Regions from separate parts of the Homo sapiens genome. Here regions 2, 3, 4, 5, 6 and 7 are each linked to region 1. The links are contacts of gene promoters, found by promoter capture Hi-C in human tissues and cell types (Jung and others, 2019). All regions are on one chromosome and are shown on one strand. The core of a region is centred on a gene start or on the middle of the fragment in contact, and the rest is flanking DNA. Distances in the headings are between cores, read along the strand shown. Region 1 holds the start of CPPED1 (calcineurin like phosphoesterase domain containing 1). Region 2 has its middle 360 kb from the start of ERCC4. Region 3 has its middle 420 kb from the start of ERCC4. Region 4 has its middle 440 kb from the start of ERCC4. Region 5 overlaps SNX29 (sorting nexin 29). Region 6 overlaps SNX29 (sorting nexin 29). Region 7 overlaps SNX29 (sorting nexin 29).

Evidence for each region. Contacts are between HindIII fragments. The study calls those that stand out against the background at their distance.
Region 2: a fragment that was not itself captured here is called in contact with the fragment with the promoter of CPPED1 in region 1 in 1 of the 25 tissues and cell types used here (mesendoderm cells).
Region 3: a fragment that was not itself captured here is called in contact with the fragment with the promoter of CPPED1 in region 1 in 4 of the 25 tissues and cell types used here (H1 embryonic stem cells, dorsolateral prefrontal cortex, mesendoderm cells and 1 more).
Region 4: a contact is called between a fragment that was not itself captured here and the fragment with the promoter of CPPED1 in region 1, in 2 of the 25 tissues and cell types used here (H1 embryonic stem cells and mesendoderm cells).
Region 5: a contact is called between a fragment that was not itself captured here and the fragment with the promoter of CPPED1 in region 1, in 2 of the 25 tissues and cell types used here (dorsolateral prefrontal cortex and mesenchymal stem cells).
Region 6: a fragment that was not itself captured here is called in contact with the fragment with the promoter of CPPED1 in region 1 in 2 of the 25 tissues and cell types used here (dorsolateral prefrontal cortex and hippocampus).
Region 7: a fragment that was not itself captured here is called in contact with the fragment with the promoter of CPPED1 in region 1 in 1 of the 25 tissues and cell types used here (hippocampus).

What each region holds. Positions count from the first base shown.
Region 1 is chr16:12,802,290-12,805,405 of GRCh38, forward strand. CPPED1 (calcineurin like phosphoesterase domain containing 1) reads right to left here and starts at 1,598. Exons shown (of 4, transcript NM_018340.3): 1 at 1,418-1,598. The coding sequence starts at 1,487. RefSeq lists an enhancer at 1,180-1,549 and a silencer at 1,630-1,679. The HindIII fragment of the contact is 16,943 bases long and covers 1-3,116 here.
Region 2 is chr16:13,557,548-13,560,663 of GRCh38, forward strand. It overlaps a transcript of SHISA9 not described here. Among named protein-coding and RNA genes, the nearest start is that of ERCC4, 360 kb to the right of the region's middle. The HindIII fragment of the contact is 7,677 bases long and covers 1-3,116 here.
Region 3 is chr16:13,496,088-13,499,203 of GRCh38, forward strand. It overlaps a transcript of SHISA9 not described here. Among named protein-coding and RNA genes, the nearest start is that of ERCC4, 420 kb to the right of the region's middle. The HindIII fragment of the contact is 3,360 bases long and covers 1-3,116 here.
Region 4 is chr16:13,476,646-13,479,761 of GRCh38, forward strand. It overlaps a transcript of SHISA9 not described here. Among named protein-coding and RNA genes, the nearest start is that of ERCC4, 440 kb to the right of the region's middle. The HindIII fragment of the contact is 5,385 bases long and covers 1-3,116 here.
Region 5 is chr16:12,138,917-12,142,032 of GRCh38, forward strand. All of the region lies in intron 13 of SNX29 (sorting nexin 29), which reads left to right. Among named protein-coding and RNA genes, the nearest start is that of SNX29, 160 kb to the left of the region's middle. The HindIII fragment of the contact is 4,224 bases long and covers 1-3,116 here.
Region 6 is chr16:12,161,889-12,165,004 of GRCh38, forward strand. The region is part of intron 13 of SNX29 (sorting nexin 29); the gene reads left to right. Among named protein-coding and RNA genes, the nearest start is that of SNX29, 190 kb to the left of the region's middle. RefSeq lists an enhancer at 1,350-1,850. The HindIII fragment of the contact is 5,369 bases long and covers 1-3,116 here.
Region 7 is chr16:12,179,078-12,182,193 of GRCh38, forward strand. The region is part of intron 13 of SNX29 (sorting nexin 29); the gene reads left to right. Among named protein-coding and RNA genes, the nearest start is that of SNX29-AS2, 190 kb to the right of the region's middle. The HindIII fragment of the contact is 7,033 bases long and covers 1-3,116 here.

The sequences.
Region 1 (3,116 bases), core at 348-2,847:
GACAAGGTCCATTAAAATACAGTCGTCCCAGGCCGGGCGCGGTGGCTCAGGTCTGTAATCCCAGCACTTTAGGAGGCTGAGGACGGCGGATCACCTGATGTTGTGAGTTCGAGACCAGCCTGGCCAACATGGAGAAACCCCATCTCTACTAAAAATACAAAATTAGCCGGGCGTGGTGGTGCGTGCCTATAGTTCCAGCTACTCCAGAGGCTGAGGCAGGAGAATCGCTTGAACCCGGGAGGCGGAGGTTACAGTGAGCCAAGATCGTGCCACTGCACTCCAGCCTGGGCAATAAAGCAAGACTCCGCCTTAAATGAATAAATAAGGTTTTACCATAGAATTACCGGAGAAACCTACTTTAGATAAGGTAGCAGGTAAAGTCTCTGAGGAAGTGAATGAACTTTAAAATGAGGTGTGACGGTTGAGAGAGCCAGGCTCACCAACCCTGCTAAAGAAGCAGAAAACAGCAAGCGCCAAGACCCTCAGGGAAAGAACGGCCTTGGCCCTTTTAAATGCAGTTCAAACAAGGGCAACAACAAAACCTGTTGCAGAACTGGGCAAGAGAGAGAATGACAACCCTGAAGGAAGTGGACACAAGCCTGATCATATAGGGCATTTAGGGTGACTTCCCTGGGGGTATAAAGCTGGTGAGAGCCTGGGAGGCGATCTGGCTGCAGGCAGCAAAAAGCCACAGAGGGGAATCAACAAACCAGAAACAAACCTCCCTCTTTACTTAGCACCTAGCATGCGTCCAACACCGGGTTACAAAAATACTTTTGATCTGTTTACGCTTCCAACAACCCTATGAGGCAGGTATTATCAAACCCATTTTTAAGGCAAAGCAGATAATCTAAATCCAAAATCCAAGCACTTCACTACGACTCTCGAATGCCCTCCCTCTCTACTGCTCTGATGGGGCAGTGTTACCATTTCGGTGAATGACTTAAATAAACGTCATTATGGAGTACAGAATACATAACGGTGAACAACCTTAATAAAACCGACACCCTCTAACATGCACCGAACGCTTATCCAGTAACACCCACAAGTATTCCCGTTTCACAGATGTGGAAGCTGAGGCCAAGATGCTAATGCACAGCTTGGAAACCAGGTCTCGCTGCAGAGTCCAAGCTGTCATTAACTATGCTTTGCTACCCTCCTCTTACTTCCCTTCTCTGGGGGAAGTTAGGTCAAGGCCAAGGAGGCTCCTAGACCAGATCGCTCTCTCGGCCTCGCCTCTCAACTGCGCCCCTGGAATCCCTAAGAGCAGGCTTTGATGCAGCTATGGCGGCTCCCAGGCCCCGGTGCAGCCCCGGATGGTGTCCGACTGGCGGAGCGCACACCTGAACAAAAGGTTCCCCCGGCGGAAGGTTCCGCAGCCCCAGAGTCCCCTCCCCGGGTGAGGGGCGGGCAGTACCTGCGGGAAACGCGGCCAGGGTCCTGCCCCTGGCTCTGTGGAAAACACCCCCCGCCTCTGCAGCCGACATGGCGAGCGAGTTTCTGGCCTTCACTTAGAACACTGCGTGGGTGGAAGCCGCGCGACTTCACACAGAACAACCGCTGGACCTGTCCCGCTTTGGGCGACGCCCTTTGATCTCGGGGCGGGACTGGGGCGGGACGGGGAGGGGCCCGGTGGCTCGGGGCGCCACTAGTGCTGCCTGGGCGGAGCGGAGGCGCCAGCGGCCCCTCTGGGATCGACCTGCGCGCCTGGCGAGTGGAGACTGTCTAGGGCACGCGTGGGCGGGGATAAGGCTTTGGGGTCAGTCCTTCCCTAAAGGCAGAGTTACTAGATTTAACAAGTAAAAATGCAGGACTCCCGGTTAAATTGGAATTTCAGATTTTTTTTTTTAAAGAATGACTGACTTGGTATAAATATGTCCTATGCAGTATTTGGGAGCTACTTACGTTAAATTTTTTTTTCATTATCTGAAATTCCAATTGAACTGGGCGTCCTAATTTTTTTAAATTTTTCTCTTTTTGCAGGTTTGAATGGAAGCGTCCTGATTTTTTTTTATCTGACAACTCTATCATAAAGTCAGAAGGAGCCACTGGGGTGGCTTACGCCTGTAACCCCAGCTCTTTGGGAGGCCAAGGAGGGAGGATCGCTTGAGTCCAGGTGTTGGAGACCAGCCTGGGCAACACGGCGAGAGACCTTGCCAATACAAAAAAAAAAAAAAAAAAGATGAAAAGGTGGACGTCTTGGAAGACTGTCTCAGCCTGAACTTCCCAGTGGCTGCCACCATCTTTCTGTTATTATCTTTGCTTGCTATGCACCAGGCAGGGCGCTAAGCACTTTGCACGCTGCTCACTTAATCCCCACTACAGCCCTAGGAGGTGGTGCTGTTATTAGCTGCATCCGTCATTTGGGGAAACTGACGCTCAGAGAGATGAACGAACTTGCACAAGGTGACACACATCTAGAGAGGTAGTAAAGCTGCGAGTAACCAAATTAGTGTCTCTTCAACTCAAGAGCCATTGTAGTGAACTACTTAGCCAGCATTTGTCAAACGTGTTGAAAATACAAATTCCAGAATGGACCTATTGAATCCAAATCTCTATGAAAATGATCTGTGTTTTGTTGTTGTTGTTGTTGTTTTGAGACAGGGTCTCACTCTGGTTGCCTAGGCTGGAGTGCAGTGGCACAATCTCTGCAGTCTCGATCTCCTGGGCTCAGGTGATTCTCCCACCTCAGCCTCCTAAGTGGCTGGCACTATTGGCGTGCGCCACCATGCCTGGCTAATACTTTGTATTTTTAGTAGAGACGAGTTTGACTATGTTGCCCAGGCTGATCTGGAACTCCTGAGCTCAAGCAATCCACCCACCCGGGCCTCCTAGAGTGCTAGGATTACAGGCATGAGCCACAGTGCCTGGCCTGAAAATGATCTGTTTTTAACAAGCACTGCAGGGGAGCTCTTATGATCTTACAAATTTGGGAAATTCTTTTCTAAACTAGCTGCCTACATCCAAAGCACTGTTTGAGTAGCTAATATGGCCATAACTACTGTTCTCTAATCCTTGACAAGAGTCACCCATGAATCATAGTGGTTAAGAGTATAAATGCCTATGAGTCCTGGAGTCAGTGGGCTTGGATTAATCCCGGTTCTACCCACTTACTG
Region 2 (3,116 bases), core at 390-2,889, 760 kb after region 1:
AGACAACTCCAGGCACTGTTTCCCTGATGGGAGCAGAATCTCAGGTTATTTATAGCCACTTCTCAGGAGGAACATGGCACAGGGCATCCGAGGAGAGAACCACGCCAAGGTGCGCTAATGGAACTTTGAGGATAATTTACTGCTCAAGTTCAAGGACTTTTGCAACAAGAAAGAGCCTCTCAAACTCCCAGCAATCTCTACCCAGGAAGGAGATGAACGTGACTGTGCAGGTCTGTCATTCAAGATTCGCCATCTCATCAATCTCATCTTCTCCCACTGTCCCCCTGGCTCACTCCTCTCCAGCCACCGCAGCCTCAGGCAGCTCCTCAAACATGAAAACACACTCCCACCACAGGGTTTTCATTTTTGCCCTTTCCTCTGCATGGACACACTTTTCTGACACCCTTTTAAACTATAGGCTTCCGATCACCTGATACTAGTAATTGAAGGGTGTAGTGAGCTATAACTGTGCTGCTGCACTCTAGCCTGGGTGACAGAGACCAAAAAAAATTAAACTAAAAGTTGAAAAGAATAAAATATAAACTTCCTTTTCTGCTTCCCTGCTTTGCATTTTTCTACAGCTCTTACCAAATCCATGCTTGCTTTGCCCCGAGTTTGCTGTGTGATCTTGGGCTAATCACTATCTCTCTCTGGGTTTTAGCTTCCCATCTACAAAATGAGGGCAGTGGTTGACAATTCTCTAAAATCCTTTCTAGCATTCACATCCCACATCTCTGGGTGCAAATAATGTAAATAAGCTTGATGCTGTGCTGGTCAAAATACATAGTTTCAGGCTTATTTATCAATAACAAGAAAGTGACATTGTACATAGTCACTTCTTGTTATTTTCAGTAAAGTCACCACCAACTCCCAATTAGCCAATCCTGAGCCATGGCTCCTAAGAGAAATACAGGGTTGGGTTCCTGCAAGCCTCTGACCACAACATTTTTATCAATCAATCAATGCATAACCTTGTTTTTTGTATATATGTGTTTAAAGGCATCTTATGTAACATATACTGATTCACTAACACTGAGCTCACAGTCAAGAGTACAGTAACACGTTCCTGAGCAACACTTATCCAACACATGTATGTCCTTCTTCAGGCATGTCACAGCCTTTGGAACACAAGGTAGCACTTCCACACTTTATTTGGGGAACAATTTTAAACAGCAAAGTCACCAAGAAAAAGCACACAAATGTGACAAATATGGCACTAAACAGACTACAAAAAAAGATATTTGTTTATCGTATGACAGCTGAAACAAGATGGCAGAGTGTTGCCCCGTTTCCCCTAAGCTAGGAATGTTTTCATCACCTGATTAACATTTTTCAGGGCTCTGCACATTTCTGTGAATGATTGTGAAAGTGTCACGAGTATTGATTCGGGGGTTACAAATAAATTTTAGCAAGTAAGCAAATTCACAAATACAGAGTCTGGGAATAATGAAGATCAATTTATAGTTTACAAAGATAATTATTATTTGCCTTCCCCACCACAATGTAAGCTCCAAGAAAGCAGGTGTTTTTCTGTTTTGTTCACCACTTTCTCTCTAGCTCCTAGAATATATACACTCTTAACAAATATTGGTGACATAAATAAGCCTGAAGATATCTATTTTGACCAGACACAGTATCGAGTTTATTTAAATTATTTGCACACAGAGATGTGGGATGTGAATGCTAGAAACGATTCTAGAGAACTGTCAACCACTGCCCTCATTTTGTAGATGGGAAGCTAAAGCCCAGAGAAGGGTAGTGATTAGCCCAAGATCACACAGCAAACTGGGGTCAAAGCAAGCATGGATTTTTTTTTTCTTTTTTCTGCATTTTCTATTTTTTTTTTTTCAGAGACATTCTCGCTCTGTCACCCAAAATGGAGTGCAGTGGCACAATCATAGCTCATTGCAGCCTCAAACTCCTGGGCTTAGGTCATCCTCCCACCTCAGTCTCCCAAGTAGCTAGGATTATAGCCATGTGACACCATGTCTGGCTAATTTTATATATATATTTTTTCTAGAGACAGGGTCTCTCTGTGTTTCCCAGGCTGGTCTTAAACTCCTCATCTCAAGCAAACCTCCCACCTCGGCCTCCCAAAGTGTTGGGATTGCAGGCATGAGCCACCACATCCAGCTGAGCATGGATTTCTTAAGCCATTCCATTTTACTATATTTCCAGCACCTTACAGACATGATCTTTGTTATTATTGGGATGTCTCAGAGCATCTGGCTCAGGGCTTAGAACAGAGTGGTTGTTCAATAAATGCTGACAGGCTGGATTACAGAAAAGGTAGGGGATATTCCTAGAAGATGAAAAGGCAGACTGCACCTTCAGCTAAAGTCAGTCACATCAACTGGAAAGATTGACTTGATTTTCAGCAGTAGCTCTCTCAGGAAAAAGTTAATGGGGAATAAAGAGGAACTCTGTTTATCAGTCAAGACTTCATGTTCCAAGTAATGAAAAGATAAACTTGCTTTAAAATAAACAAGAGAGAGAATTCATTGACTTGGGCAACAGAGAAGTCCAGAATTAGGGTGAATTTCAAATGTGGATTGAAAATAGCATTGGGGTAGCAGTTTTGCAGCTCTGCTTTTCTGCAAATCTCTTAGCTCGATTTGGTTTCTCTCACTAGCAAACTGTGTACAGGAGTCTAAGGCTTAGTATCTTCCCAACACAGCATTCAGAAGAAAAGAGCTTCTATGGTCCAGCACTCCCACCTGGAGATTCTCACCTGAGATTCACTGTAATTAGACTGGCTTAAGTCATGTGGTCACCCCTGAACCAATCACCATAGCCAGGAGGGTGTAAGCTGCTGATTGGCTGAGCAGGATCACATGGTCTAATCATGGAGCTAAGTATTGGTATCAGCACCTGAAGAATTTTCTATCGAAATTCAGGGATGGTAGAAAGACGGGAGAGGGGAATGAATACCAAGAAACAATGGTTTTCCACACTATATAGACGTATGAGGCCAGACACCTCCAACGAACTTCCAATGCAGGAACAGAGATTTGAGAAATTGTTAATTGTTTTAAAGAATTTATTGCTGCACATATTATTGCTCCAGGTTCCATGCTAGGTTCTAGGGATACAGAGGTGAAAAACTCCTAATCCTC
Region 3 (3,116 bases), core at 257-2,756, 690 kb after region 1:
TGCCACTGTCTGGAAATATACATGATAAGGTTTCAGCATTTCAAAGATCAACTTTTATATTCTGCATGTAGCCAGGCAGAAAACAAAACAAAACAACTCAAAAAATGTTTTACCTGGAAAGATGAAAACATCAAACTAGTCTCATTTTTTTTCCTCCATAACATCAAGTTTTGAGAAGGAAAGATTATGACCTAAGCATCTCTACCAAATTTCCAAGTTGTTATAATAATAATAAGGTAATGAGGTAATCATAATTGCTACTTATGATTAAGTAACAATAAGGCACTTGATAACTCAACCGTCATAACTAATTAAAATTTAGTACAACTAGAATAAGATGAAAGTGTCTCAAAATAATTATTTAGCCATCTCAAGTCAATGGTCAACATTATATAAAGAGAGTTTTCATTTATTAATAAGATAAGGAAACCACTATTATTTATTACCATTATGGATTTTCTAGTAAATCCAATAGGTCATGAGAAAAAAAAATAAGGAAGTTCATCACTGCTTCCATAAGATACGATTGCTTACTTAGAAACAAAATGAGCTGGAAAAAAATTGGAAACAATAATTATCGTCTGGAGGTGATGAGTTACAAAATCAGTATGTCTACATTTTTCCTGTGTAGTATTTGACATAAAGCAATTAGAAAATACAAAAAAAATCCATGCAGAGTAGAAATAATAGAAATAAAAACAAAACATCCAGAACTAAAGGTTAAAATACACACACACGATCTTGGCCAAGAGATGAAGATATATCAGTGTCTATCTATATATAAAGATTTGAAGAGCTCAATATGCCATTTTCCTAAATAGGAAAATTTAGTATTATTAAAATGTCACTTCTTCCAAAGTTAATTAATGCGTTTAATTCAATGCTAACCAGAATTCTAAAAAGGATTGCTTCAAAGCTTAATACAATTATTCTGAAGTTAATTTGAAAATATAAGCAGATGAGACTGATCAAGAGATATGAGGAAAAACAGGGCAAGTAAAAGGAACATCTTGTCCTGCCAGATATTACAATTTTTGTTGTTATTCATCTTTTTTTAAATTTTATTTTTAATTGACAAATAATAATTGTATATATTTATGGGGTACAGTGTGATACTTTGATACATGTTTACGATGTGGAATGATTAAATCTGTCTAACAAATAATTGTATATATTTATGGGGTACAGTGTGACATTTTGATACATGTTTACAATGTGGAATGATTAAATCTGTCCAACAAATATCTGTCTACCAAATCTGTCTAAAAGCAACCCAGGTATCCATCATCATATGAATCAATAAAGAAAAGGAGAGGGGCCGGATGTGGTGGCTCACACCTGTAATCCCAGCACTTTGGGAGGCCGAGGCAGGAGGATCACGAGGTCAGGAGTTTGAGACCAGCCTGGCCAGCATGGTGAAACCCCATCTCTACAACAAATACAAAAAATTAGCCGGGCATGGTGGCGCATGCCTGTAGTCCCAGCTACTCAGGAAACTGAGGCACGAGAATTGCTTGAACCCGGCAGGTGGAGGTTGCAGTGAACCGAGATTGCACCACTGCACTCCAGCCTGGGTAACAGAGTGACACTCCGTCTCCAAAAAAAAAAAAAAAAGAAAAAAGAAAAAAGAAGAGGACAAATTAAAATTTTAATAAGATACTTCATAAAATATCCTAGCAGACAAGTTGACAGACAGATACATGAAACATAAAAGATGCACCAGTTACCAGTGAAAGAAAAGATAAATGGTGCTGGGACAATTAATTATCTATTTGTTACAGGAGAAAACAAGCTTTAAATACCAAAATAAATTCCAATCAGATTAAAATAAGTGCAAATACGTGAATAAAATCTTAAAATATTAAAGATTTAGCATCTGAAGAGGGAGAAATTTGTGAGCAATAGAAAAAAAATCACAAAGCAAACACTCAACAAATTTGACAATATAGAATCTATTTAAATTACAAACAAAATAAAACAACAAATTAAAAAAATCAGATAAAAGTTTAATGTATTTAGCATATGAATCCATGGGAAAATATTAACATTCAGCAGAAAAAATAGACAAAGGATGTGAAAAGACAATGTAGAAGAAAAGGACCCTAAATGACAAATTGATACCAAAAAAATCAGTTTCATTATTATTCAGATAAACAAAAATTTTTTTAAAAGGCTGCCTTTAAAAATCAAACAAATAGAAGGAAAGCTTTAAATTGTTACCCCTCAATGCTAGTAGTGTAAAGACAGTGACATGGTCAACTACATACATTGCAGTTGGAGTAAACTTTGCAGTAAACAAGTTGGAACTAAGTTTCAAAAGTCTTAAAAATATTCAGTTTCCTTTACACAATAATTCTTCCAGAAATCTACCTTAAGAAAGTAGTCACGGCTGGGCGCAGTGGCTCACACCTGTAATCCCAGCACTTTGGGAGGCCAAAGTGGGAGGATCAGCTGAGGTCAGGAGGTTGAGACCAACCTGACCGACACGGTAAAACCCCATCTCTACTAAAAATACAAACATTAGCCGAGTATGGTGGCGGGCACCTGTAATCCCAACTACTTGGGAGGCTGAGGCAGTAGAATCACTTGAACATGGGAGGTGGAGGTTGCAGTGAGCCAAGATCACACCATTGCACTCCAGCCTGGGTGACAGAGTGAGACTCCATCTCAAAAAAAGAAAATAAAAGAAAAGAAGGTAGTCATGAATTTGTTTTCAAAGATGTCCAATGTAGTAAGATGGAAGACATCCACCAGGGTATTACTCCTTGGTTGTGCCAAGGAAAGGGGAGAAGTCAGTCTGGTTTGTGAATTTAGCAGACACTGATCTGGCCTGTCCTGCCTTCTTTTTCCACCTCCTTTTGGAAAGAATCTGCCTTCTTGCTGAGAGGATACCTATGGGTCTGTTCTCCAGACATAAGGTGAGAGGTCTGCCCCTGAGCAGGAGGCCCGAGGTTTGCCAGCAATGCTCATGCCTGCCCTGGATAAATCTGTACACTTCTGGGGTACAGTATCAGAGAACTCTGTTTCCCCACCTATGCAGCATCCTCTAAAGTAGAAACCAATCAGTAACCAATCAGTAACTAAGTTGACAGTTTGATCTCCACCTGTCTGAATTT
Region 4 (3,116 bases), core at 342-2,841, 670 kb after region 1:
CAGGACTCTACAGACCCTCCCTCCCATCCCACTTAGCCCCTCTTGTTCTTTGACTGAATTTTGTCATTCAGCCTCAAGCACGCCTGTTTTGTGTTTTTTTTTTTTTTTTTTTTTTTTTTTTGAGACGGAGTCTCGCTCTGTCGCCCAGGCTGGAGTGCAGTGGCGTGATCTCGGCTCACTGCAAGCTCCGCCTCCCTGGTTTACGCCATTCTCCTGCCTCAGCCTCCCGAGTAGCTGGGACTACAGGCGCCCACCACCACACCCAGCTAATTTTTTGTATTTTTTAGTAGAGACGGGGTTTCACTGTGTCCAGGATGGTCTCGATCTCCTGACCTCATTATCTGCCCGCCTCGGCCTCCCAAACTTGGGATTACAGGCGTGAGCCACTGCGCCCAGCCTTTTTTTCTTTTGAACAATGTTCTTACGTGGTCCACCAGTGATTACTGCAGGAGTCTTGGTAAACACTTATTGCATACCTACAAGGTGTCAGGAACTGGACTTGTCGCTGGAGAAATAAAAAATGAGTAATAGATCTCCCTGTCTACAAGGACCCCATTGTCTAGTTGGAAAATATAATCATAAACAATTATTTCAATGCAGTAGACTTAGGGCTGTGATAGAGGCACAGGACATTGTTGGGTCACATGGGAAGGTACCTTACACAGACTGGGCAAAAGTTATTAGAAAAGCTCTCTCAGAGAAAGTGATAGAGAAAAAGGAAAAGGAAATGGATTTTGCCATGCAAAAGGAAAGAAAAAGAATTCTAAGGCAGACAGAGCAATCCATATAAAATCACAGAGGCTTGAAACAACATGGCAAGTGCAGGGAACTATGATGTGTTTGGACCATAAAGTGAAAAAGGTGGTGGGGGGAGGTGAGCCTGGAGAAAGAGATCCCAACCTGGCCCCAAAGGCAAGTCATTTCAAAGCCTCTTTGCACCACACATTTTCTCTCTCCTTTCCTTCTTCCACAAACAAAACGAAAGTATTTCCCAATGCAGAATGCCAACTGAAATGTGCACTTCAAAGGCTATATTGGGCCAGGCGCGATGGCTCATGCCTGTAATCCCAGCATTTTGGGAGGCCGAGGCAGGTGGATCACTTGAGGTCAGCAGTTCAAGACCAGCCTGACCAACATGGTAAAACCCCTTCTCTATTAAAAATACAAAACTTAGCCAGGCATGGTGGTGTGCACCTATAATCTCAGCTACTTGGGAGGCTGAGGCAGGAGAATGGCCCGAACCCGGGAGGTGGAGGTTGCAGTGAGCTGAGATCACACCATTGCACTGCAGCCTGGGAAACAGAGCGAGACTCCATCTCAGAAAATAAGTAAAATGAACAAAAGACTAGACTGTGTTGGTTTTCTCTCCCTCTTATTTTCTGGGGACCTGCTACATTCTGATCATGGATCCTGTTTTGTTTGAGCGACATCGCATTTTCCTCTGAAATCCTTTCTGTCTCTCTTCCATCCGGTTGTTTCTTTAACTGAAAAAGGAACCTGCCGGGGAAACATGTTGGGGTCTTGACGGCATCTCATGTCTGTGTATATTTCAAAACACATAAAAGAGATCCTGAGTCACTGAGGGGCATCCTCCTGTTTCTTATGCTTTCTGTTTCAAAGATTGTCTCCAAAGCTCACCTCTTAGTGCTGAGAGTTTTGGGCTTCTTTATGGAATTGTCTGGAATCTTAAGAAAAAAATATACACTTGCAAATCAGTGCTGTGTTCACAAAGCAAAAGATCACACCCTAAGAACCAGGCTTTCCCTGTTGTTTAGGTCAAATCCCTTTTGACCTAATTCTTAGGGTCCTATAAGTCTGGACTCCTCTGGGCCAGACTTGAACTCTATAGTTTACCCCCTAGAAACACTGGACTTCCTTGTGCATCAGTTCCTGCAGCTGTAAAATGCAAGCATTGAACTAGATCATCCTGGAAGGTCTGTTCCACTCTAATAGTCTAGGATTTTGTAAAAAATTTATTTATGATTTAGTTAGTACTTCTGCCAAACATATTCCATAAACCTTCACCCAGCTTTTGAAAAACAACAGATCTTTCTGGATTTCATCTTCTTACATGAGTATTACTAAGCCTTTCTACATCGGTACAGGCTAGATAATTGGAAAAGAAAGGGTGTTAAGAATGCGGGCTCGAAGGCTGGACTTGGATCTAATGAATCCTAATATCTGGGAGTGGTGCTTGGGGACCTGTACTCAATAAGCCACCTGGGCGATTCTGATCCACCATTAGTGCATCTGATGTTTCTGCAGGTAACACATTGTATTAGTGTCCTATTGCTGCTGTGGAATATTACCATAAACTTTGTGTCTTAAAACAACACAAGTCTGTCATGTTTACAGGTCTGTGTCTGTTTAGAAGTTCTAAATTATTTTCATGGGGTGAAAATAAAGGTGTCATCATGGCCTCCTACTGGAAGAATCCCATTCCTTGCCTTTTCCAGCTTCTAACAGCTGCTTATATTCCTCGGCTTATGGTCCTGCACGGCGCCTATCAGTTTCCTTTGTCTCGTCCCTTTCACTGACTCTGAATCTAACTCTCCAGCTTCCCTCTTTTAAGGGCCCCTGTGATTACTGTGAGCCCTCTTGGATAATCCAAGATAATCTCCCTGTCTCAAGATTCTTAACTCCATCATGTCTGCAAAGCCACTTTTGCCATGTAGGTAGCATATTCATAGGTCTGGGTATTAAGGTAAAGACATGCTTTGGATGCCCTTATTCAGCCTATATCCCATACTGCCTTGATTTTGCTGAGGCTGATACAAGGGGCCCCAGAATTTGTTGCTGCAAATTTTCTTTTATAAAATCCAATAAACTGACTCTAGGAGATGTCACTGAAACACTTGCTAAAAATAATCTATATTCCACCAGGTAATCTGCAATCACCTGCATCATTTAGAACCCTCCATTTCATCATGCAATTAATTTATACATATATATATATACTTTCATTATTCACCTGTTAACTCCATAACATGCTAATCACGAGCTAGTTTGCAGCAGTTATATTCCCTTCCTCACGGCTGCATGAGGATGCGATTAATTGGAAAACAGGGAGACCAGAGACATGACCAGAAATGACGTCATGCATCCCATGCCATCGC
Region 5 (3,116 bases), core at 313-2,812, 660 kb before region 1:
TGTTGGTCAGGCACGGTGGCTCACGCCTGTAATCCCAACACTTTGGGAGGCCGAGGTAGGTGGATCACTGAGGTCAGGAGTTAGAGGCCAGCCTGGACAACCTGGTGAAACCTTGTCTCTACCAAAAATACAAAAATTAGCTGGGTGTTGTGGTGTGTACCTGTAATCCCAGCTACTCCAGAAGAATAAGAGAATCACTTGGGCCCAGGAGGCAGAGGCTGCGGTGAGCTGAGATCGGCCACTGTACTCCAGAGCCTGGGCGATAGAGCGAGACTCTAAAAAAAAAAAAAAAAAAAAAAAAAAAAAGGGAGGAAGGCTTTGTGCAGCATCTCCTGCCTGATCGTGAGACCGATCAGGTCCCTCTGAGATACGCTTCATGGGAGTAGGTATTCCTGAATAGCGTTATTACTGACAGTCACAGTCCGGGTTGTCATCCACGCACTGCCTGTCTTCCCTTTTAGACTGTGCGATCCATGAGGGCAGTGGCCCGTCCTTGCACCTAGCACAGTGCCTGGCATTGCTCAGTCATATTGGCTAAATGAGGGATTGAAGGGACCGTGGGGCCAGTGACTGTCACTTGGTATGAGTGTCACTGAGAAATGTCAATTCTTCCAGCACCTTAATTGTTCTCCTCCTGTTGGCATCTTCTCTTGGCACAAAGCAGCCAGTTAGGCTGGGCTTTAGACCTGTGGATGGTCGTTTGCCCCAAGATGTATTTTTAGTCATTTTCTGGGAATTGGGGCTTTCTGGAAGCCCCTCAGCCATTCATTGAAATCTTACCATATAGAGGCCAGGTGCAGTGGCTCACGCCTATAATCCCAGTCCTTTGGGAGGCCAAGGTGGGCAGATAGCTTGAGCCCAGGAGACCAGCCTGGGCAACACGGTGAGACCCTGTCTACACAAAAATTACAAAAATTAGCGGTGCGTGGTGGTGCATGCCTGTGGTCCCAGCTACTCAGGAGGCTGAGGTGGGAGAATCACCTGAGCCCAGGAGGTCAAGGCTGCAGTGAGCTGAGATTGTACCACTGTACTCCAGCCTGGGAGACAGAGAGATACCCTGTCTCAAAAAAAAAAAAAAAAAAAAAAAAGGAAAAGGAATCTTACCACTTAGAGTCAGTAGTAGGTGACAGAAACCCACCCTAAACTGCCTAAGAAAAAGAGCAGTTGATTCGCTCATGAAACTTAAACCTACAGGAGAAGAGCTAGCTTTTTGCTGGGCTGGATCAAAGCTCTCAGGGGGTATCACGCATATCATGCAGTCCCCATGACTTTCCATGTCTCCTCTCTCTTTCCCTCGGTCTTGGCTTCATTCTTAGGTAACTCTTCTCTTGTGGTGACAAGAGGGCCCCCAGGGGCCCCAGCCTAAATCCCATCAGTTTAACAATGCCAGTGGGAGGAGAAGACTTTTTTCCAGTAGCTCTGGAGAAGTCTTGGGATTCACTCTCTCATTTCCCGGGCCAGCTGTGTTACTTTTCCTGCCCAAGCCTGGGTCCCATTCCCCCTGGAGCTGGGGGTGGCTGGCTTTCCCTCACCTGAACTCCGTGGAGCAGGAACAAGGATGGAGGAGAGTTTGCTTAAAAGGAAAACCAGGATGTTCCTCCCATCAGATTGGGGGTGCATGCGGTGAGGTGCAGCCTGCAGATGTCCCTGACAGTGGGTTGCTTCCACAGAGGGCTTGTGACGCTTGGATTCTGTCCATTTTCCAGAGTGACACTACCGTGCTGTCACTCTTGTGCCAGCTGTCTTGCGCACCCTGTCTTGGTGGGTGAAATCTGGGCTCAGCCATTCTAAGCGGTAGCCCGAAGGTCTCTGTGCTGTGTTCTCCATTGTGCTTTTCCTTGGCTAGATATTTCGGTCTGATATAATCTGACATTATTAGCAAACCGCTGGTCCAGCTACTTTGGCATATTTGGACTTGATCTTAGAAGACTCAATATCTGTTTTAAATAAAAATATTTGGTAATGCCCCCTTCTGAAATGAAATTTATAGCGAATATAACCTACTTATACAAGTAATTTAAAAAATCAGTATAACACTCTAATATGAAAGAGAAATGAAAGGAATTTATAATACAAAATAGATTTCAGTACATATTGGTCTGGCGCAACTGTGCTAGAAAACATGCTGACGCTAAGTGCTTGCACCTCCTTCTCATGGATGAGTTTTGATTTTAAGAAGTTAAGAAGATCAGAAGTCATTCTTTAGAAGGAGTCCAGAAAAAGAGCAGAGAGTGGGTGAACCGTAAAGTAAACCTGGCATAGTCAGTATATATGAAAGGCATTCCTTTCTAGGCTCAGATTATGAGTAAGGTTTCCGCCTACATGAATGGCCACAGGACGATTGAAGTGTTGCAGGAAGTAGGCTGATCTTGGTTGTGTGGTACTGCCTTGGCCTTTCAGGACAGTTAGTATCCTCGGCTCTATGCTGTAAATGCTGGTAGTGCTAATGGAAAGGGGTCTTGATTCAGATCCCAAGAGAGGGTTGTTGGATCTTGTGCAAGAAAGAATTCAGGGCAAGTGCTTAAAGTGAAGGCAAGTTTATTAGAGAAAGTAAAGAAGCAAAAGAAGGGCTACTCCGCAGACAGAGCAGCGGCATGGACCAACTGACTTAGAGTACTTATGGTTATTTCTTGATTATATGCTAAACAAAAGGCAGATTATTCATGAGTTTTCCAGGCTCGGGGCAGGATTTCCTGGAAGTGACGGTTCCTCCCACTTTTAGACCATGTAGGATAACTTACGGACATTGCCGTGGCATTTGTAAACTGTCATGGTGCTGGTGGGAATGTCCTTAGCATGCTTATGCATTCTAATTAGCACATAATGAGCAGTGAGGACGACCAGAGGTCACTTTTATCACCATCTTGGTTTTGCTGGGTTTTGGCTGGCTTCCTTACAGCATCCTGTTTTATCGTCATGGTCTTTGTGACCTGTATCTAATGACACCAGTCCTCCTGACCTCCCATCTCATCCTGTGACTAGGAATGCTTCACTTCCTGGGAATGCAGCTCAGTGGGTCTCAGCCTCATTTTAACCAGCTCCTATTCCAGATGGAGCTGTTATGGTTCAAACACCTCCAACAATAGCACTCATCATCCTCGTGATGACCCAGACTG
Region 6 (3,116 bases), core at 193-2,692, 640 kb before region 1:
CTGTGAACCAAATAGACCTCCCTTCCATATAAATTACCCAGCCTCAGGTATTCCTGATGAGCAATGCAAAATGGACTAATACAGTCTTTCCACAATTGTCGGCCCCCGAATCCCTCACCACCCCTGTTGGTTTCTTTTCACCTTGCTCCTCTGTAAATGGTCTATTAAACCTCACCATCAACCCCTTTGATGGTGCCATGTACTTACTTCCTGCCGGGCTTTGACTGAAACACCAGGCTTGTTCCAACTGGATGGCTTTGCACGTGATGGCTCCCTTCTTGAACACTCTTCCCTCAGATCTCAGCACGGTCGGCTCCTTCTGAGGGTGTCCAGCCTCAGCACACATGTCAGCGCCTCCGAGGGGCCTCGTCTGTTTACCCTCTCATCGTCCATCCTAGTACCATGCGTCATTTTCTTTATATCACTTTGACCCTCTGAAATGATCAATACTTGGTTGGCTGACTGGGCTTGTCCAGGGCATCCACACCCTCCTAAGTAGATGAGGAGTTGGCAAATATATTCTGTTGAGGGGCAGAGGGTAAATATTTTTGGCTTTGCAGGCCATATGGTCTCTGTCACAACTACTGAAGTCTGCTGTTGTAGCAAGAAAGCTGCCAGAGACATTACATAAATGAGTGGACATGCCTGTGTTCCACTAAAACTTCATTCACAGAAACAGAGCAGAAATGTGTGGTAGGCACATTCTATTCAATAAAGCTATTTAAGAAGCCACAAAAAATACACAACAGGCTGGATTTGTCCTGTGGGCCATAGTTGATGACCTTGAGCTAGCCTGAAGGCAGTGGGGTCTTGTGTGTCCTGTTCACTTTGGGTCCAGTGCTTTGAACGGGGCCTGGCTCGTAGGAGGTGCGTAGTAACTGTTCCCTGAATGCAGACCCAGGAATGCCTGTTCCATGCAGGTCATGGTGCTGGGCAGCGGCAACACCCTGGAGGGCCGGCAAGCACGTGTTTATCACACAACATAGTTGTTGCTTTGTTTTTCTTTTTTTTTTGAGACAGTCTCACTCTGTTGCCAAAGCTAGAGTGCAGTGGTACGCTCTTGGCTCACTGCAACCTCCGCCTCCAGGGTTTAAGTGATTCTCTCACCTCAGCCTCCCAAGTAGCTGGGGCTACAGGCATGTACCACCATGCCCAGCTAATTTTTGTATTTTTAGTAGAGATGGGGTTTCACCATGTTGGCCAGGCTGGTCTCGAACTCCTGACCTCAGGTGATACGCCCACCTTGGCCTCCCAAAGTCCTGGGATTACAGGCGTGAGCCACTGCGTCTGGCCAGTTGTTGCTTCTGATGGTAGATAGGAATGTCCTTTGCGGAGCCCCCAGGGTGAATTGGGTCACCCTGCTGAGAAAGGCGGGACTGGCCTCCCTGAGGAGGGAACACTGGAGCTGCGTCTGGAAGGCTGATTAGGGGTTTGGCAGGTGGGTGAGGTGGGGTAGCAGGGAGGAGGGCTTTACGAGAAGCTTGAGAGGGCCTGGTGTGTTTGACGGACTAGACTCTGCTACCCAGGGTGTTGAGGGTGACTGGAGAGGAGCTCAAGTGGACAGAGGCCAGACCAGAGGCCTGCACACCATGCCTGGTGGTGGGTCATTATCCTCTAGGCGATGGAGCAGCACTGAGGATGCAGCACCGATGAATTCACATGGTTAGAGAGGCGTTTCCATTGAGAGCAGTGTGGAGAGTCATGGAGGGGCTGGTGGCAACAGGAGACTAGAAATCTCCTGTAGAAGCTTCCCTCTATAGAAGCTTCTTGCCCCACATGGGTCTTGGTCTAGGGTGGGGTCTTGGGAGGATTTGTATTTGTTAAACCGAACCTTTTGTTCAGCCAGGGCTGAGGACTGTTCCCTGCCTCGGCACATCCTGCGGTCTCTGTTGGAGAGAACGGACCATAAGCTGATGCAGGCTCTGTTTCTGGCTTGCTCGATGGTGGTACTGTTCCGTGGTGCAGAGGATGAGCAGGTGTAGGTGAGGAGAGGGTGTGTCCAGATTTGGACATTCTACAGGAGTGGGGTGGGGAGAACTGAGATGTTAACAAGTAATTGAAAAATGAGGTCACAGGTAGTACAGCTCTCAAGAAGACAGTACAAGATGATGATGTGAATCTGCAAAGGACCTATGGAGTGGGAATATCTTTTGGTTGGGAGGGTTTGCTTTCTTAGTTGGGGAAAGCATTTTGGAGGTGCGGTGTGTGTGTAGGGGCACAAAGGAGCCAAGACTGGAAGGATGAGGAGGAACCAGCTCTCCCAGTGTCTGGGGGAAGACAGGGAAGGGCATATGCAAAGGCCCTGGGGTAGGGATGAGTGTGGGGTATGGAAGAAATGTCAAGAGGGGCGCAGAGCAGAATGTGAGAGGGCAATGAGGTACGAAATAAGGCATTTGAGTGGAGTTTGGAAAACAGAATTTCCAGTTGACCAAGATTTCTGGTTAATAGAGTACTAGTTATGCTGGTTTAAGAAAACCCGTGCGATAGTGAATGACTGTAATAAGGATTTATAAGATGTACTTGGGAATCCTTGATCCTGTAGGTTCGTGATTTTGAGAAGTTCAACTGCTACATTTTTGCCCCTGGCCTAGCATTACAACCTTGAGAAGATTGAGTACTGTTTACAAGTATGTACTTTTTTGGTTGATAATATTTCTTGAAACTTCTCACTTTGAAAGGGGCCATACAGCATTTGGAAGCTGTATGGGCAGCCTGAGCATTTGGCTTGGATTTAATCATGGGATTTTCTTACTTTGGGCAGCAGAATTCATATAAGTGTGTTTATTCATGCCTTTTTTTTTTTTTTTTTTTTTGAGATGAAGTTTTTTGGCTCTTGTTGTCCAGGCTGGAGTGCGGTGGTATGATCTTAGCTCACTGCAACATCCGCCTCCCGGGTTCAAGCAGCTCTCCTGCCTCAGCCTCCTGAGTAGCTGGGATTACAGGTGCCCACCACCATGCCCAGCTAATTTTTGTATTTTTAGTAGAGACAGGGTTTTACCATGTTTGTCAGGCTGGTCTTGAACTCCTGACCTCAGGTGATCTGCCCACCTTGATCTCCCAAAGTGCTGGGGTTACAGGTGTGAGCCACCGCACCCGGCCTTATTCATGCCTTTTTG
Region 7 (3,116 bases), core at 366-2,865, 620 kb before region 1:
AATTGTGTTTGTGTGTCTGTGTGTGTGTATATATATATTCCTATGTGTAGATATCTATAAGGTTTTAGAATAACACTACTACAACAATATAATTGCCAAGAACATATAAAAATATTGGCTTGTGAGGGCCGGGCACAGTTGCTCACACCTGTACTCTTAGCTTTGGGAGGCTGAGATGGGAGGATCACTTGAGTTCAGGAGTTCGAGATCAGACTGGGCAACGTGGCGAAGCCCCATCTCTATACAAAATAGAAAAAGTTAGCCAGGTGTGGGGGTGCACACCTGTAGGCCTAGCTACTCGGGAGGCCGAGGCAAGAGGATCGCCTGAGCCCAGGAGTTGGAGGCTGAATGAGCCATGATGGCGCCACTGTACTCCAGCTTTGGTGACAGAGTGAGACCCTGTCTCAAAAACAGACAAACTGGCATATGTTTCCCTGTTTTCTTCCATTTTAAGAAAATATTCATTTTAAATCTACTTTACCTGAGCCTATGGCCAGTATATACTTTACTCATTCCTTTTGAATCCTGGTCTCATCTTGAGTTTATGTTTAATGCTTTCCACCAGTTCTCTGTTGGTATGTTGCTAGTCGTTTAGGTTATTGCAAGCTTCATCTGTGACGGATTCTGCAAGGGACTGTTGATGGTTACAGTATTCCCAGAGTTGTTACACGTTGTTACTAGTTTGTGCTCTTTATACTTACAAATCAGTATTGTGGATCCAAAAATTTGTAGGTCACATTTTCTGAGAGTCTTAAATATGTTACTACATTTTCTTGAGGCATTGCTGTCAAAGTCTTCTCCTTAGAAGACTTGCCCAAAGGAACTCTTCTTTCTCTAAACGTCAGCGATTTTACTAGACTATATCTAGGTGTTAGTCATTCCGTCAGTATTTTCAGGTACATGGCATGTTCTTTCAGTCTCTTTCAATGTGGAACTTCGGGTCTCTTTATTCCAACAAAGTGTTTTTGAATTGAGTTTTTAGTACCTGTTATTTTGGTTTCTTCTCCAGGGGCTTCTGTTTTCTGTTCATCTTATTTACCTGTCTTCAGTATTTGTCACTTCCTCTCAAATCTATCCCTTTCTTCATATCCTTTTCTTTTTCTAAAAAAAACAAACAAAAAACAAACTTGCTCTTTTCATCTTCTAGGTGTTCCTTCTAGGTTGGTCTTCATTTCTGAAATACTTTCTTTAATGTTCTGAGTTTGGTTACCTCGCTGCATTTTTCTGGTTCTGGCGTACGTTGTTCTTTTATGTCATTTTTGTATTGTCTCCAGCTTGTTTTGCAGTAGGTCAAAGTCACTTGAGAATTTCTGGCGCATCTTTATCTGCAGCTATATTCTATTACTTATTCTGTTTCTCCTCATAATATTGTGTATGGTTTTATTGGATACTTCTTTGTTGCTTCTCTGTCTCTTTTTTTTTTTGAGATGGAGTCTTGCTCTGTCGCCCAGGCTGGAGTGCAGTGGCGCGATCTCGGCTCACTGCAAGCTACGCCTCCCGGGTTCACGCCATTCTCCTGCCTCAGCCTCCCGAGTAGCTGGGACTACAGGCGCCCGCCACCACGTCCGGCTAATTTTTTAAATATTTTTAGTAGAGACGGGGTTTCACCGTGTAAGCCAGGATGGTCTCGATCTCTTGACCTCATGATCCACCGGCCTCGGCCTCCCAAAGTGCTGGGATTACAGGTGTGAGCCACCTCGCCTGGCCCGTTGCTTCTCTTTATGTGTAGTTAGGAAGTGAAACTTTAGGAGAGAGGCGTGGTAGAGGGAGCAGAGCTCTCTCTCCTGTGGATTTCGTGTGGTGTTAGGCATACTGCAGCTTGTTTTCTGAGCTTTCCTGGCTCTTATCCCCCATTTCATCTGGATCTTCTTTTTCCCTCTTCTCTAATGTCTCGCTCCTGCTAAACTGTGATTCTGCTTCTGTAGCTTTTTCCCTCACTGCAGGGCCCAGTCCTGGAAGGGAGTCCTGACAGTACAGATTTGAGAGTCAGTGGAGGTGGGCCTGGGTTACCGTGGATCTCCTTGCGCTCACCTGCTAGGGGAGAGGAAGAATCTCCTGGCTTTACTGCACTTCTCAACGTGGCCCACCACGCTTTTATGAACCCCGAATATCTGAGACAGGCCTCAGTTAATTTAGAAAGTTTATTTTGCTAAGGTTGAGGGCGTGCCCATGACACAGCCTCCGGAGGTCCCGAGGACATGTGCCCAAGGTGGTCAGAGCATGGTTGGGTTTTATACGTTCTAGGGAGACATGAGGCATCAATCAACATATGCAAGATGAACATTGGTTCGGTCTGGAAGGCGGGACAACTCGAAGCAGGGCTTCCAGGTCCTAGGTAGATTAGAGACAAATAGTTGCATTCTTTTGAGTTTCTGATTAGCCTCTCCAAAGGAGGCAACCAGATAGGCATTCAGCTCAGTGAGTAGAGGGGTGACTTTGAATAGAATGGGAGGCAGGTTTGCCCTAAGCAGTTCCCAGCTTGACTTTTCCCTTTAGCTTAGTGATATGGGGGCCCCAAGATTTCTTTTCCTTTCACTTTCCTTCCAAGGAGCACCTGTTGGTGATTTGCGGGGAGGGGGCTGCCGGTGATTTGGGGGCCTGTTGGTGATTTTGGGAGGTCTGTTGGTGATTGAGGGGGGGTCCTCCTCAGGGCTTTTCATCAGATCTGTCGCTTGCCTCTGTGTTCTACGCAGATACCATGTAGGCCTTGTGGCTGTGACTTTATCCTTGCCTGCTTATATTTTGGGGTTTATGGGGGTACCTTGTCACCTAGCGTTGTTGTAAATGCTGTCTGTGGGCTTCTGCCTTTTTTTTTTTTTTTCTGGAGACGGAGTCTCACTCTGTCACGCAGGCTGAAGTGCAGTGGCACGATCTCAGCTCAATGCAACCTGTGCCTCTGGGGTTCAAGCGATTCTCCTGCCTCACTGTTCTAAGTAGCTAGGACTACAGGCATGCGCCACCACGCCTGGTTAATTTTTTTGTATTTTTAGTAGAGATGGGGTTTTTGCCATGTTGACCAGACTGGTCTTGAACTCCTGACCTCAGGTGACCTACCTGTTTCGGTCTCCCAAAGTGCTGGGATAACAGGCATGAGCCACTGTGCCCGGCCTAGTTTT